Linked DNA regions of Homo sapiens: region 2 is linked to region 1. The links are contacts of gene promoters, found by promoter capture Hi-C in blood cells and fetal thymus (Javierre and others, 2016). All regions are on one chromosome and are shown on one strand. The core of a region is centred on a gene start or on the middle of the fragment in contact, and the rest is flanking DNA. Distances in the headings are between cores, read along the strand shown.

Region 1 (3,533 bases), core at 565-3,064:
ATTGAGGGGTGGAGGGAGAAAAGTAGGGATAACCAAAAAGCATGTACTCAGACATAAAGATTTTGGAGGGGTGAGCAAGAAGTTGCAGTAAAATCGTACCTTTTTTTTTTCTTCCTGTAAACTGTCTTTGGTTTATGAGCCAAAGAATGAGTTTATAAGAGGCAGAGCAAAGAATAGGGGAGTAGTGAATTTGTTGTACTTAAGTGGGATGTCAACTTCATAATATAAAAATGAACGTTTCAGCAAATAGAGCTGCTCACTCAGAAAGGGTGGCCTATGTAACTTGGGGTTCCCCATCATTGGCCGTGTTTAAGCCTAAGTGGCATATCTGGTTAGAAATGGATTACAGTAAACAGTATTCCTGTATCCTTCATTCCGCAAATGCAAAAGCCTACTCTGTATAAGGTACATGCAGAATATGAAAAGGTATCAAATCTGGATCTGCTCTCTGCCAGCTGTCAAAGCATTGCTTCTCACACACTTTAATGTGATCTTGTTAAAATGCAGATTCAGAACCCTGGGGATGGGGCCTGATTCTGCATTTCTAACAGGCTCCCAGTTGACGCCAACACTGCTGGTCTGTGTAACACAGAGTGATAAACGTTTCTAGAAGGAGACATGCAAATACTTATAATACAAAGGTAAGTACCTTAGGGATTCCACTAATTTTCATAAAAAACCTGGATCCCTCCCAACCCTAGGGCTGTCTTTGCCCTTTTTATACCTTTAGTGTTCCTTCTGATGTTTTCGTTGTTGCTATCTTCCTTGAATTTTATTTCTTCTGAGGTTTCTCACTGTGTATGCTGTTTCTTAGCCTAGGAGAGCCTTTTCGTTCTTCTCCTAAGACTAACATTTTACTAATTTGTCAAGGAGCTAGAGCTCCTAAACACGCCATCTTGAATTCTTCCCTGCGACCCCAGTCGGGCTGAAAGCTCCTTCCTTGTCGCTCCCCACTGAACAGATTTTTCTTGGGGCGGGGAGAGGGGGACGGAGTATCGCTGAGTCGCCAGGCTGGAGTGCAATGGCGCGATCTCGGCTCACCGCAACCTCCGCCTCCCGGGTTCAAGCGATTCTTCTGCCTCATCCTCCCAAGTAGCTGGGACTTCCGGCGCGCGCCACCACGCCCAGCTAATTTTTGTATTTTTAGTAGAGCCGGGGTTTCACCTTGTTGGCCAGGATGGTCTTGATCTCCTGACTTCGTGATCTGCTCGCCTCAGCCTCCCAAAGTGCTGGGAATACAGGCGTGAGCCACTGCGCCCGGTCAGAACAGTTTTAACCTCCAGCAATGACCACTGCTTCCTTCTGCCTGCAGTTGGAAGTCAGTTTCAGTTTTCTTATTCCCTATAAGGAACCCACCTCTCCGGTCGCCTAACACACAGATGCTGCCCAGAAAACGTGCTGGCGCACCTGAGGCGGGGTAGAAAGCCGTGCCGCTCCTCCCGGCACCGAGCACCGGAGCCCAGGGAGGCGGCCTCCGAGTGTCATTTGGGGACGTCCCTTCTGCCGGGTAGTCTCAGAGGCCAAGCGCTCCTATTATCCCGGGCGCAGTCTCCCCAGGCGGGACAGGCCCTGCCTGGCGCCCCCTCCTGGCGCTGGAGGCTGCGTGCGACTGCCCACCATCGAGGCGGCGGCGGCGGCGGCTAGAGAGGCCGGCGGGTCCCGGGCGCCGAGGCTGCAGGCCGCAGGGAACGCGCACTGGGCGGACTCCGCGCCGCCGGCCTTGTAGCCATTTTAGGAGGAATCGCTGGTCGCCAGCGAGGGGTGCGGCTTCAATTTCAATAACTTTATTGGTGGCCTGATCTGCAGAACAGCCATCACATCAGTGGCCCTTGGAGGAGGGAGCGCATCGCCCGAGGTGACTGGAGTGGGGGCGCCCCTGGCAGTGAGCGCGGGGACGCGGGGGAGGTCCCGATAGCGGGTTTCCTGAGCTAGGGCCAGTGAGGGCACCGGGGTATTTGCAGGCGTTCCCGCAGGCCAGGAGGGAGAGGGCTCCAGGGCTCGGCTTCCCTGGGGCGGGGAATCCCTTGCCCTGTCCCGAGGCGCAGGGGCGGGGCCGGGGGGCGCCCCTGACGCGGCGGCTGAGGTGTTCCCAGCCCGGTGTCGTTCCCCGCGGTAGGTGGTCCCCGACGAGCTGCAGCCATGGGAAACACCACCAGCGACCGGGTGTCCGGGGAGCGCCACGGCGCCAAGGCTGCACGCTCCGAGGGCGCAGGCGGCCATGCCCCGGGGAAGGAGCACAAGATCATGGTGGGGAGTACGGACGACCCCAGCGTGTTCAGCCTCCCTGACTCCAAGGTAAGCGTCCCATGCCCGCAGTTGGTGTCAGTACTGCAGCGGGTTGATTTCTGGGCTCCTCTTCCCTTTCTTGGTTCTTTTCTACCGCGCCGAACCGGGCTATGGTTTTTTGAATTAAAGGGATTTATCGGGGACAGAGGTGTTGGATGATAATTCCTCTTGAAGTGCCGCCTCAAAATAGGATAAAGAGGCGGAGTTCTTGCTTTCCTGGTGTTCTGACTAATCTGTTGGCCACATTTTTAGGATGGGGACAATAGACATCCCCCCATCCCCGATCCTCCGAGCACGAATGGCTCTCTTCCATAGCGTTGCTGAATTTGTAGTTTGTAATCCCTGGTGGACAACTTCAGAGGGTAGGTTGCACGAGTTGCTGACCATAGGTGGTAGTTTCTCACCTTTGCCCTGAGGTGGCTAAATGAAATTCTTTTTCTGAAAATTTCTATGTATCAGTATCATTTTTGCTCTTCTAGCAGCTCTACAGTTGTGATCCTCTTCCCTTTTGGCACGGCTGTAAGCAGCAACTACTTGCTTATTGAATACTTTCTCCTAGTCTTGGGGATCAATTAAGGACATCATTTAGTTGACTGCTTAATTTTTGTCCCATACTTTATAGTTGTGGTGGCTGAGGCTGTGCCTCTTTCACGCCCCGCTGCTGCTCCGTAGGTGGAAGAGCCAATGATTCCACGACTTGTTTACTCCTCAGTAGTACTTCAAAATGTTGCGTGGCTAAAAAAACGACAACCCACAGCTGCCCTGAAGACCTTGCTCTCAATTCCAAGGACTTTCAGGAAGAGAACAACTTGTTTTCACTCTGTAAGAAAGGACAGATGGAGCTGATAGCAGCGATTACCATTCTAATGTTTCTAATGGCTTTCAGAGCTGTCAGCATGAAATACAAGTAATTCCTCCAGGTAGACTGACTGGATGAGATAGAAAAATGGAGGGCTTGAGGAGATTCGGGTGTGTTTGATGTTTCCTATCATTTCATCACTTCCCAGGGAACTGGGGCTTTAGAGAGTGAATAGAGTATTGTTTGCCATATTGGTAGCACATGGAATTTGGATTCCATGATTTATTTCTTTGGATCTCAATTGATAACATCATCACAGCCTGGCGCAGAGGCTCACGCCTGTAATCCCAGCACTTTGGGAGGCCGAGGCGGTTGGATCATTTGAGGTCAGGTGTTCGAGACCAGCCTGACCAACATGGTGAAACCCCGTCTCTACTAAAAATACAGA
Region 2 (3,230 bases), core at 731-3,230, 740 kb before region 1:
ATGCAGCCCCTTGATGCCTGTGTCTGTTTCTTCCTAAATAGGCTTCTCCTTTTATTGGGAAGACTAAGAGGGAAAATGTGGGGACAGTGTGGGTACGTTCATTGAAGCAGGATACTGCCTCATCTGAGGAAAGACGCTCTATCACACACTTATGTCCCACCTGAGATAAGGAGACCAGTAGCCCTCATTTCTACAACTGGTACCAAACAGCAGTTTTATTTAGAACAGGATATCGTTTTTCTTTTTCTTTTTTGTATTAGGCTCTAGTTGAGATAGACACTTTATTCTGGTAATGATCAAGCTATTCATAAGGCTCTTCCTAAAATGCATCTTCAGGAACAAAACTATGGGAGCAATAGTGCAGCCATTAGAGTCAAGGATGCACTCTCTGGTTCTCAGGCCTCGGATTGTGTTAATTCTCTCACCATATAGGAGAAAGTCTGTGTAGAATAACGTTGCTTGCTAGGGGTAAGATTAAGCAGTAGCCAGAAAATCACGTGCCTCCAAGATAAACATACCTCTTCTATTCAACATCCCTCCACTGAAGGTTTGTCACTTTGGGTTACCTAGGTAAAAATATATTTTAGTCTTTCTCTTTTAAATGCAGTTTTTTCCCCAGGAGTAGTTACCGAACAATCAAACCTTAGAATGAATTTAATTTTTAGACTACTTTGCTTTAGAATGGGTCACCAAGGAATGGAAATTTTGTCAAGGGGGAGGAATAGTTTTGGAAAAGGCCTGCTTTGGAAAGGTATATCTTGAATGAATATCTTAAAAGGAAGGTGGTAACCAGAGGGCAGCAAAGGGGATTGATATACTTTGAGATGATGCTGATCGGGGTTGGGAAGATACAACAAACGCAGTTTTTCTAAGTATCCCTTTTGGGCCCCTTGCTGGTCTCCTGTCCAGGTCCCTGCTATGTCAACTTGGTTTCTATACCTCCTACCCTATCTTTGGCACTGCAGTCCATGAAGCATAGTGTTGCTTTAGGTGAACCATCTTAGTTTTCTCTCCTTGCTCTGGAAATCAATTGGCTGAGGGTAAAATTGCTCCTGGTATGAAATATGTACGTGTACATGAGGATTTCCCCTGAACAGACTCTGTGTTTGAGGAGGGTGAGTTGTGGGAATATGAGGACAGGAGCCCTTCAAGATTCTTCTTGTTCCCTTTAGCCTCTGTGTCCTTTCCAGGGATGAAGCTTGGCCTGAGACTCCACTTTGGGATCCTGGCTGTGTGAGCACCCACTTTGTGAGAGGCTCCCTCTGGTGCCACCCTGATGGCCCTTTGATCATGTCTGAGAGCTGCCTCTTCCCAGGACATGCCTGTGAGCAGATGTCCTCCAGCTCGAAACTGGGCTTGCTTCTAGTCACTAGTGAAAAAAGGTATAGATTTTAGGCTGAGCACTGATGCTGCAAGAGGGGAATAAAGAAAGGATCTTCTTTGCTTCAGGAAAAACAAACTACAACCAGGCCTCAAAGCCTTTTGATTTCACAGAGAGAGTTTTGGCAACTTGCTCTCTTTCTCTGATGGTACCCAGGGCAGAATTCCCACCAATACAAAGCATATCATTGCTTCAGAACCCAGGGGCTACAATGAGCCAAAAGAATGGTCAGTGAGAACTTTAGGTATCTCCTGGACTGATGATTTAAACAAAACACTCCAAAGTAGTGAAATAAGGTTTAGGAGCCACAGAAACAAGTTGAGACCATAAATAATAAGACCGATTCCATAGGAAAGCTGGGCTAATTAGCATAAGCTGATATTGCAAATTGGTGCCTCACAGGTTAAATGTGGCTTGCACATATTTCATTTGGTCCACATGTTGTATTTAAAATTTAGTTGCCAACATTAACAATTTTGAAAATTTCAATTAAAATTTAGATTTCATGGGCCAGGCACGGTGGCATACACCTGTAATCCCAGCATTATAGGAGGCTGAGGTGGGTGGATCACTTGAACCCAGGAGTTTGAGATCAGCCTAGGCAACATGGTGAAACGCCATCTGTACAAAAAATACAAAAATTAGCCGGGTGTGGTGGTGTGCGCCTATAGTCCCAGCTACTTGGGAGGCTAAGGTGAGAGGATCACTTGAGCTTGGGAGGTTGAGGCTGCAGTGAGCTGAGATTGTGCCACTGCACCCCAGCCTGGGCAAGAGAGAGCCTGTCTAAAAAAAAGGTTGGATTTCTGGCTTCCCTTGAAAAATCAGAAAGACCAGGTAACACTTCATGGTACTCATTGTCTGGAAGTGAGCAGCAGCTGCCCCTGCTTTCCAACTTTCACAGCCCCATTCTCTCCCTTGCATTAGAACAGGCCTGTCTTGCAACTTATGTCACCTGTCTGTATTCTGTAGGCTTTTGAGTCTGGATCCCTGAAATATGGTCACATGGTATCTGCTTCAGAAATGCTGGGATGATAGATTCTGGCTTAGTGAGCTTGAGACAAGATGGGTAAAAGGCTATGAGGCAACCCCAATTCCGATTTAAGGGTTTCTATGGAGAAATGGGGATGAAAGAAGAGTCACCCATAGCTGCTGGGGTTGGAGGAGCGGGGTAGTCCTATGAGACTGGGGAACTTTAGTGGGTCGATGGGTTTATCTTGGTAGCCCTTATGCTGGATGTGGGAAAGACTGTTTCCTAGAGTTGCCTGGAGTGCACTGCCCTGCTGCAGTGCCTGTCCAACCAGAGGCTGGTGGGAGGACAGGAGACAGAAGATTCAGATCATGTTGGCACCTGTTCCTTTCATCTTGCCCTACGTAAGCTTGGGCGTTTTTTTTTTTTTCTTTGGCGTCACTTCATACGGTTAGATCGTCTGACCTGGCTCGGCTGCTGGCTTTGCTTAGCCTGCTCAGGGGTCTGGCATCATCTGTTGTCAGCTCTGGACAGAGTGAAGGTGTCTTCTCAGCTGGCAGCCCTTGCTTTGACACCTTCTCCGACTGCGGCTCTTCTTTTTCACCCTCCTTATCCACTCCGGGGGTCTCTACTTTCTCCCCCTCTGGCACGGCCACCTTCTCCTGCTCCTCCGTGGTCAGCCTCTCTGCTTCCTCCTTCTTCTCTCCCACCTCGGGTTCGGCTCCCTCCTCTGCAGGCGGCCCCTCGCCCTCCACTTCTTGTGCCCCCACCTGAGCGTAGGAAGGCAGTGTCTCTTGGTAGCCCCGGGACAAGTCCCCCAGGGGTCCTGTGCTGATCTTCTCCTCGAACTGATTGAAAGGCTTGGCAGGCAGTGGGCTGGTC

Evidence for each region. The method cuts DNA at HindIII sites, captures the fragments that hold promoters and counts their contacts. A CHiCAGO score of 5 or more calls a contact.
Region 2: a fragment that was not itself captured here is called in contact with the fragment with the promoter of PRKAB2 in region 1 in 2 of 17 cell types (neutrophils and fetal thymus); the score reaches 7.7 in neutrophils.

The regions. Positions count from the first base shown.
Region 1 is chr1:147,170,751-147,174,283 of GRCh38, reverse strand. PRKAB2 (protein kinase AMP-activated non-catalytic subunit beta 2) reads left to right here and starts at 1,814. Exons shown (of 8, transcript NM_005399.5): 1 at 1,814-1,855; 2 at 2,117-2,295. The coding sequence starts at 2,140. It also overlaps a transcript of CHD1L not described here. RefSeq lists silencers at 1,485-1,714, 1,885-2,154. The HindIII fragment of the contact is 16,401 bases long and covers 1-3,533 here.
Region 2 is chr1:147,908,819-147,912,048 of GRCh38, reverse strand. GJA8 (gap junction protein alpha 8) reads right to left here. Exons shown (of 2, transcript NM_005267.5): 2 at 2,780-3,230. The coding sequence ends at 2,792. Among named protein-coding and RNA genes, the nearest start is that of GJA8, 7.6 kb to the right of the region's middle. The HindIII fragment of the contact is 1,559 bases long and covers 1,201-2,759 here.